2 separate regions of the Homo sapiens genome follow, and region 2 is linked to region 1. Evidence: promoter capture Hi-C in 16 types of primary human blood cells and fetal thymus (Javierre and others, 2016). All regions are on one chromosome and are shown on one strand. Each heading gives the region's core, a stretch centred on a gene start or on the middle of the fragment in contact. The rest is flanking DNA. Distances are from core to core; before and after follow the strand shown. Region 1 holds the start of HAUS6 (HAUS augmin like complex subunit 6). Region 2 overlaps TTC39B (tetratricopeptide repeat domain 39B).

The links. Contacts are between HindIII fragments. The CHiCAGO score rates a contact against its expected background, and 5 or more counts as called.
Region 2: a contact is called between a fragment that was not itself captured here and the fragment with the promoter of HAUS6 in region 1, in 1 of 17 cell types (M1 macrophages). The highest score is 7.4, in M1 macrophages.

The regions. Positions count from the first base shown.
Region 1 is chr9:19,101,081-19,105,059 of GRCh38, reverse strand. HAUS6 (HAUS augmin like complex subunit 6) reads left to right here and starts at 2,156. Exons shown (of 17, transcript NM_017645.5): 1 at 2,156-2,536. The coding sequence starts at 2,409. RefSeq lists an enhancer at 1,914-2,477. The HindIII fragment of the contact is 8,228 bases long and covers 1-3,979 here.
Region 2 is chr9:15,300,349-15,304,411 of GRCh38, reverse strand. All of the region lies in intron 1 of TTC39B (tetratricopeptide repeat domain 39B), which reads left to right. Among named protein-coding and RNA genes, the nearest start is that of TTC39B, 4.8 kb to the left of the region's middle. The HindIII fragment of the contact is 2,376 bases long and covers 63-2,438 here.

The DNA.
Region 1 (3,979 bases), core at 907-3,406:
GTAACAAAGGACCTTGTGTTCCTCCGCCTGCTTTCTGAGGTTGCTCCGCTCTTCAACGGAGTAGTTTCCAATAAACTTGCTTCCTTCATTGTGTTCTGTGATTCACCTCAAATTATTTCCTGCACGAGATCCAAGAACCTTCTCTTTGGGTCTGGATCAGGACTCTGTTTTTTCCGGCAACAATTTTACAGACTTTGACTCTTTTTGTCGACAGGAGTCAGAGATTTTTTTTTTGTGGCTGTTCTTTTGCTTTGAGAAGGGTCTTGCTCTGTCACTAGGCTGAAGTGCAGTCGTGCAATCACAGTTTACTGCAGCCTCAGCCTCCCAGGGCCCACGTGATTTTCCCACCTCAGCCTTCTGAGCAGCTGGACCACAGGCGTGCACCACCAGAATGGAGTCAGAGATCTTACAGATGACCTCCATAATGAAAAGCTATGGGTGATAGCATAAACTTCAAAAGGTGCTTTTAGGCTGGGCACGGTGGCTCATTCCTTGGGAGGTCAAGGTGGGCAGGTCGCTTGAGCCCAGGAGTTCGAGCCCAGCCTGGGCAACTTAGTGGCTTTTCTTTCTTTCTCTCTCTCTCTCTCCTCTTTTTTTTTTTTTTTTTTGAGACAGAGTCTCACTTTGTCGCCCAGGCTGGAATGCAGTGGAAGGATCTTGGCTCACTGCAACGTCTGCCTCCCGGGTTCAAGCGATTCTTCTGCCTCAGCCTCCCGAGTAGCTGAGCTGGGATTACAGGCATGCGCTACCACGCCCGGCTAATTTTGTATTTTTAGTAGAGACGGGGTTTCTACATGTTGGTCAGGCTGGTCTCGAACTCCCCACCTCAGGTGATCCGCCCACCTTGGCCTCCCAAAGTGCTGGGATTATAGGCGTGAGCCACTGTGCCCCGCCTCTCTCTCTTTTATTAAGGTGATTTTAGTGAGGCAGGAGACAATCATTGCCAGAGGTAGCAATGAGACTTAAAAGCAGGTTACCCAATCCACTTCCAGGCCCTGTTGTCAGTGGGGTTTGTGGTAGGCAACAGCTGTCAATTAAGACGACGGGCCGGGTGCGGTGGCTCACGCCTATAATCCCAGCACTTCGGGAGGCCGAGGAGGGCGGATCACGAGGTCAGGAGATCGAGACCATCCTGGCTAACAGGGTGAAACCCCGTCTCTACTAAAAATACAAAAAATTAGCCCGGCGTGGTGGTGGGAGCCTGTAGTCCCAGCTACTCGGGAGGCTGAGGCAGGAGAATGGCGTGAACCTGGGAGGCGGAGCTTGCAGTGAGCCGAGATTGCGCCACTGCACTCCAGCCTGGGAGACAGAGCTAGACTCCGTCTCAAAAAAAAAAAAAAAAAAAAAAAAAAAATTAAGAGGACTGCAGGCGGCCAGGCGCAGTGGCTCACGCCTGTAATCCCAGCACTTTGGGAGGCCAAGACCGGCAGATAACCTGAGGTCAGGAGTTCGAGACCAGCCAGCCAACATGGTGAAACCCCGTCTCCATTAAAAATACAAAAAAATTAGCCGGGCGTGGTGGCGGACACCTGTTAATCCCAGCTACTCGGGAGGCTGAGGCAGGAGAATCGCTTGAACCCGGGAGGCGGAGGTTGCAGTGAGCCGAAATCGCGTCACTGCACCCCAACTTGAGCAACAAGAGCGAAACCCCGTCTCAAAAAAAAAAAAAAAAAAAAAAAAGACTGCAGGACTGCAGGGGAGTATAGAGCCAGATTTCATTTAAAGCAGGAAAAGGAACATCCGGCATTTGAGGACATAGATTTCGCTAACGACAGAAATGAGGCTCAGAGATTACGTGACTTGATTAGAGTCACAGTGAGCATAGCGGAGGATGGAACCAATGCTTTAACTCTACACCGAGGCATAGTGCTCCATTTATGGCTTTTTTGTGACGTAACAACTAGGATACACAAGCAAATGGACCCCACTAACCAAGAATCAGAAACCCGAAGGCCCGAGGATCTGGGCACGACAGCGGTTAAGCAAGCGCAGAGCAAGTCGCTGGCCGCGCAATGCCCGGTGGGTCTTGCAGTTTCTTGGCTGGGCATGGCCGGAAGGGAGGAGAGAAGGACGCATTGCATGGCGGGAGATATAGTCTTTGCCGGAAGTCCCTCCTCCCTCGGACGCCTGGCGGCGCCGGCGCACACTGCTCTTCCTTAAGGGCGGGAGTCTCGGTTTGTGGTGGCTTCGCTGAGGCAGTGGTGGCCGCACTATACCGTTAGAAACTCAATTTCCCGGAGGTTGTGAGGCCCTTTGAGGCGAAATCGCTCTGGGCGTGAAAGGAGCAGGCGTTGGCAATGGAAGGACCACCGCGACCTCAGGCTGACCGTAGGGAGGGATCTTGAGGGCCCTCCGAGTCCCCTGGGCTTGCGCTTTCTTTCTTTGCAGCCACCGTGCCTACCGCGAGGATGAGCTCGGCCTCGGTCACCGCTTTCGAGAAGGAGCATCTCTGGATGTATCTGCAGGCGCTCGGCTTCGAGCCAGGCCCGGCAACCATTGCCTGCGGAAAGATCGTGTCGCACACGCACCTCGGAGTGTAAGGAGGCCGGGGCCGGCGGGGCGAGGGAGCCTGAACCGGGGGACGCCGGGGGACTCCCCCTTTTGTAGACCCCGGAGGTTGATTAATCAGAATTGGTTGAGCAGTTACTCTGTGCCAGGCATTGGCTCCAAAGTTCCTACTCCCAGTTGCTGCCAGCCTAGGGGCAGAGACAGACAGTAAATAATGCAAGAGTGCCGGAAGCGCTCTGTAGGGGAGTGCAAAAGTCTGCAGATGGGGAGAGTGCAAGACTGGAGGAGCAGCTTAACTCTGCCTATGTGGTGGAGGGGTGGTCTGTGAAGTAGTGGGAGGGATGGCGGGTGGTAGTGGAAGAGCATGGGAACCATATGTACAAAACACCTTTTGGACTCAAGGGAGCCTTTGAAGGTGGTTGTTTAATTTTATAATTTTTAATTTTTTAATTAGTAAGGCATGTTGGAGTTAGCATAAAACAACGGAGAAGGGTATTAAAAACAAATACCCTTTTAAGAAAAGTATGGAAAGTAAAAGCCCCTTCCCTACTTTTTCCACTTCTGTTTTATCAACTTTAGCCAGTATCTCTATTTAATCATTCCCACTGTAGGCCAAGAGGAATTCTTTTCTTTCATATGGAGTCTCCCTCTGTTGCCAGGCTGGAGTGCAGTGGCACGATCTCGGCTCACTGCACCCTCCAACTCCCTGGTTCAAGCGATTCTCCTGCCTCAGCCTCCCGAGTAGCTGGGATTACAGGCACTTGCCACCACGCCCAACCAATTTTTGTATCTTTAGTAGAGACGGGGTTTCACCATGTTGGCCAGGATGGTCTCGATCTCCTGAGCTCATGATCCACCTGCCTCGGCCTCCCAAAGTGCTGGGATTACAGGCGTGAGCCACCGTGCCCGGCCTCTATTTTTTTAAAGTATTATTATTTTAGAGACAGTAGCTAACCATGTTGCCCAGGCTGGTCTCAAAATTCCTGGGCTCAAGCAATCCTCCTGCTTCGGTCTTCCAAAGTGCTGGGATTATAGATATGAGCCATTGTTTTTTGTTTTGAGACAGGGTCTCCCACTCTGTCGCCCAGTCTGGAGTGCAGTTGTGCGATCACAGCTCACTGCAGCCTCCAACTCCTGGGCTCAGGCGATCCTCCCACTTCACCCTCCTGAGTAGCTGGGACTACAGGTGCGTGGCACCATGCCTAGGGTCGGCATGTTGCCCAGGCTGGTCTTGAGCTCCTGGCCTCCAGCAATCCCCCCGCCTTGGCCACTCCAAGTGCTGGGATTACAGATGTGAGCCACCGAGCCTGGCCTGTTTTATTTATGTTCATAGTTGTACATATTTTGGGGATATAAAATTTTGATATTTTGATACACTTATACAATGTATAAGGATCAGATCAGGATAAATGGGATAGCCATCATCTCAAACATTTATCTTTCCTTTGTGTTGGAAACATTTCAGTTCTTT
Region 2 (4,063 bases), core at 1-2,500, 3.8 Mb after region 1:
AGCACAAGCATCTTAGATATTATAATGGTGTGTGGCCATTTAAAGCTCAATCAACAAAAGCTTGTTTCTTAATATTTGAATTTCTCTCATTGGGTTTTCTTGTGTATTACACTAGCAACATTGATAATGGATTCATGGAAGATGTACAGAATATATTCAAGGTCAATCCAACAAATTTATAACGTAGAGATGGCTGTGGTTGGAAGACTTTCTCTCTAGTTGCCTGATCTTGAAGTCATTTTAGTTGGTTACCTTCACATACTTATGGGCTACCATTGGGTGCCTTGTGGCTTGCTTATATTTGGCCCTCAAATATAAGGATTTGAGAATTGAATGAAAATCATTTATATTTTATTATTTAATTCAATTAAGATTATTCAGCTCACCAATAATTATCTCAAGTGCCAAAAAGGAAAACATTGACAGTATTTGAATTAATATCTAGCAGCTAATTAAGTTAAAAATTTTCTCATATGAGGCCAGGTGTGGTGGCTCATGCCTGTAATCCCATCACTTTGGGAGGCTGAGGCGGGTGGATCACCTGAGGTCAGGAGTTCGAGACCAGCCTGACCAACATGGTGACACCCAGTCTCTACTAAAAATAACAAAAAAATTAGCTGGGCGTGGTGGCGGGCACCTGTAATCTCAGCTACTTGGGAGGCTGAGGCAGGAGAATCGCTTGAACCTGGGAGGCAGAGGTTGCATGAGCTGAGATCGCACCATTGTACTCCAGCGGGGGCAACAAGAGTAAAACTCCATCTCAGAAAAAAAAAAAAAATTTTTCTCATATGAAACAAAAGTTCACTAAAAATCACTTTTCAACCTGCGTAACGCAGTGAGACCCTGTCTCTACAAAAATAAAAATATGAATAGTTAGCTGGGCATGGTGGTGCCCGCCTGTAGTCCTAAGTTATTCTGGAGGCTGAGGTGGGAGGATCACTTGAGCCTAGGAGGTTGAGGCTGCAGTGAACTCTGATCATGCCACTGCACTCCAGCCTGGGTGACAGACCCCGTTTCAAAAAAAAAAAAAAAATCACTTTTCAGAAAATGATTTTTTCAATAGTTTTACTTTTGCTGGAAAATAACAGTTTTGAATGTTTTTTGAAAAGTTGATTACATTGCTATTATGTAGGTATAGAAATTGATAATTTGTATATATAATTTGATGCATTATATTTAACATTATATTAAAAGTCACTCAGCAAATACAGTTATAAAGTTAAATGTTCATAGATTTTTTTTTTGAGTTGGAGTCTCCCTCTGTTGCCCAGGCTGGAGTGCAGTGGCACAATCTCGGCTCACTGCAACCTCTGCCTCCTGGGTTCAAGCGATTCTGCTGCTTCAGCCTCCCAAGTAGCTGGGACTACATGTGCGTGCCACCACGTCCAGCTAATTTTTGTATTTTTAGTAGAGACGGGGTTTCACCATGTTGGCCAGGATGGTCTCGATCTCTTGACCTCGTGATCCGGCCGCCTCAGCCTCCCAAAGTGCTGGGATTACAGGCATGAGCCACTGCGCCCGGCCAAATGTTCATAGCTTTTTAAACATTTTTTTCTTTTTTTGGTGGGGGATGGAGTTTTGCTCTTGTCATCCAGGCTGGAGTGCAATGGCATGATCTCGGCTCACTGCAACCTCCGCCTCCCGGGTTCAAGCGATTCTCCTGCCTCAGCCTCCCGAGTAGCTTGGATTACAGGCGCCCAACACCATGCCCAGCTAATTTTTGTATTTTTAGTAGAAACAGAGTTTCAGCACGTTGGCCAGGCCGGTCTCGAACTCCTGACCTCAGGTGATCCACCTACCTCGGCCTCTCAAAGTGCTGGGATTACAGGTGTGAGCCACTGCACCGGCTTTTTTTTTTTTTTTTTTTTTTTTGAGACGGAATCTCGCTTTGTCACCCAGATTGGAGTGCAGTGGCGTGATGCATGTGCCACCACACCCGGCTAATTTTTTTGTATTTTTAGTAGAGACGAGGTTTCACCATATTGGCCAGGCTGGTCTCGAACTCCTGACCTTGTGATCCACCCACCTCGACCTCCCAAAGTGCTGGGATTACAGGCGTGAGCCACCGCGCCCGGCCTTTTTTTTAAAGACAGAGTCTTGCTTGGTCACCCAAGCTGGAGTGCAGTGGCATGATCTTGGCTCACTGTAACGTCTGCCTCCCGGGCTCAAGTGATTCTCCTGCCTCAGCCTCCGGAGAAGCTGGAATTGCAGGCGCCCACCACCACATCCAGCTAATTTTTGTATTTTTTTCAGTAGAGATGGGGTTTCACCATGTTGGCCAGGCTGGTCTCAAACTCCTGACCCCAAGTGATCCACCCGCCTTGGCCTCCCAATGTGCTGGGATTACAGGCGTGAGCCACCGTGCCCAACCTTACACTTAACTTTTAAAATATTTATTGAGTCATTCTGATCCTGTTATTGAATTAAAAAAGTAAGCTTTATACTTAGGCTCCTTTGAGGGTTGATAATGAAAAAAATTAAGACACTGACTAGGAAATAAATGGCTTATGTGACATGTTTTTACCGCCTGCTTTTTGGCCCAGGAATTTTTAGATCTAATTCTGATTTGGCTAATTTCTCTTTGGAAGTTTAGATGAAGTTTTGATAAAATTCATTACCACAATTTTCTTTCTTTTCTTCTTCTTTTTTTTTTTTTGAGATGGACTCTCTCTCTGTTGCCCAGGCTGGAGTGCAGTGGCACGATCTCAGCTCACGGCAACCTCTGCCTCCCGGGTTCAAGTGATTCTCCTGCCTCAGTCTCCCGAGTAGCTGGGGTTACAGGCATGCACCACCACGACCATCCAATTTTTTGTATTTTTAATAGAGACGGGGTTTCTCCATGTTGGTCAGGCTGGTCTCAAACTCCTGACTAAAGGTGATTCGCCCACCTGGGCTTTCCAAAGTGCTGGGATTATAGGCGTGAGCCACTGCTCCCAGCTGAGATTTATTCTTTCATTCCACCAACGTTCATTGAACGCCTGGCAGGTCCTAACAGTCTTTAAATGCTGGATGTACACACTAAAACAAGACAGTTATTACCCTTGAGGAGCACAACGTCAAGCAAAACACTTAACACAAGTCACTGTACTATTTCTATCTTTGGGTTAGGGTAGGTTTTAGGTAGGAAGGTCATATAATTTATCATTCAAAGCAGGGCACTCTGAGTAAATGAGCGCTTTCAGTAATTGCACTAAGACAACAGGTACAAACAGGGATGATTGGCTTCCCTTGTTTAGGGTCCGGCAAAGACTTGAAAGGAGAGATGGTATTTGAACTAGGTTTCAAAGGGCAAGTGGGATTGTGTTGGGCTCCCCAGTGGGAAGGCCTTGGGGGAAGTTGAGATGGGCGGGAATAAGAGAGCACTTGGTACAGTGGGAAGGAGAGTGTCAAGGGCAGAAACCAAAAAGGCTGACTTGGGTCGTGAGTCATTGTGTCCTGAATGTCACGCTAAGGAATTTGGGTTGTATCTCCTAAAAAATGGGAACCTGGAAGGTTTTTTTTTTTTTTTTTTTTTTTTTTTGAGACGGAGTTTTACTCTTTCACCCAGGCTGGAGTGAAGTAGTGGGATCTCGGCTCACTGCAACCTCTGCCCCCACAGCCTGGGTTCAACCGATTCTCCTGCCTCAGCGTTCCGAGTAGCTGGGATTACAGGTGCCTGCTACCACGCCCAGCTAATTTTTGTATTTTTAGTAGAGACGGGGTTTCGCCATGTTGGCCAGGCTGCTTTCGAACTCCTGACCTCAGGTGATCCACCTGCCTTGGCCTCCCAAAGTGCTGGGATTACAGGCGTGAGCCACTGCAACCAGCCACATGGAAGGTTTTTGATGAGGCAATTGTTGTAAGATTGCTGATTTTAGGAAGATAAATCTGGTGAAGTGGATGAAGCCAGGATGTGGAGGTGGCAGAAGGAGGACAAAAGGCTGTTGCAACAGTTAGTGTGGAAGATGATGAGTAATGAAGTAGAGTAGAGGCTGTGGCATTGGACAGAAGAGGCCAGAGTTAAAGGATTTCTCAGAACGTGAAAGAGGACTTGACTTGGTGGCCTGTCCCCCAGTTTGAGGGT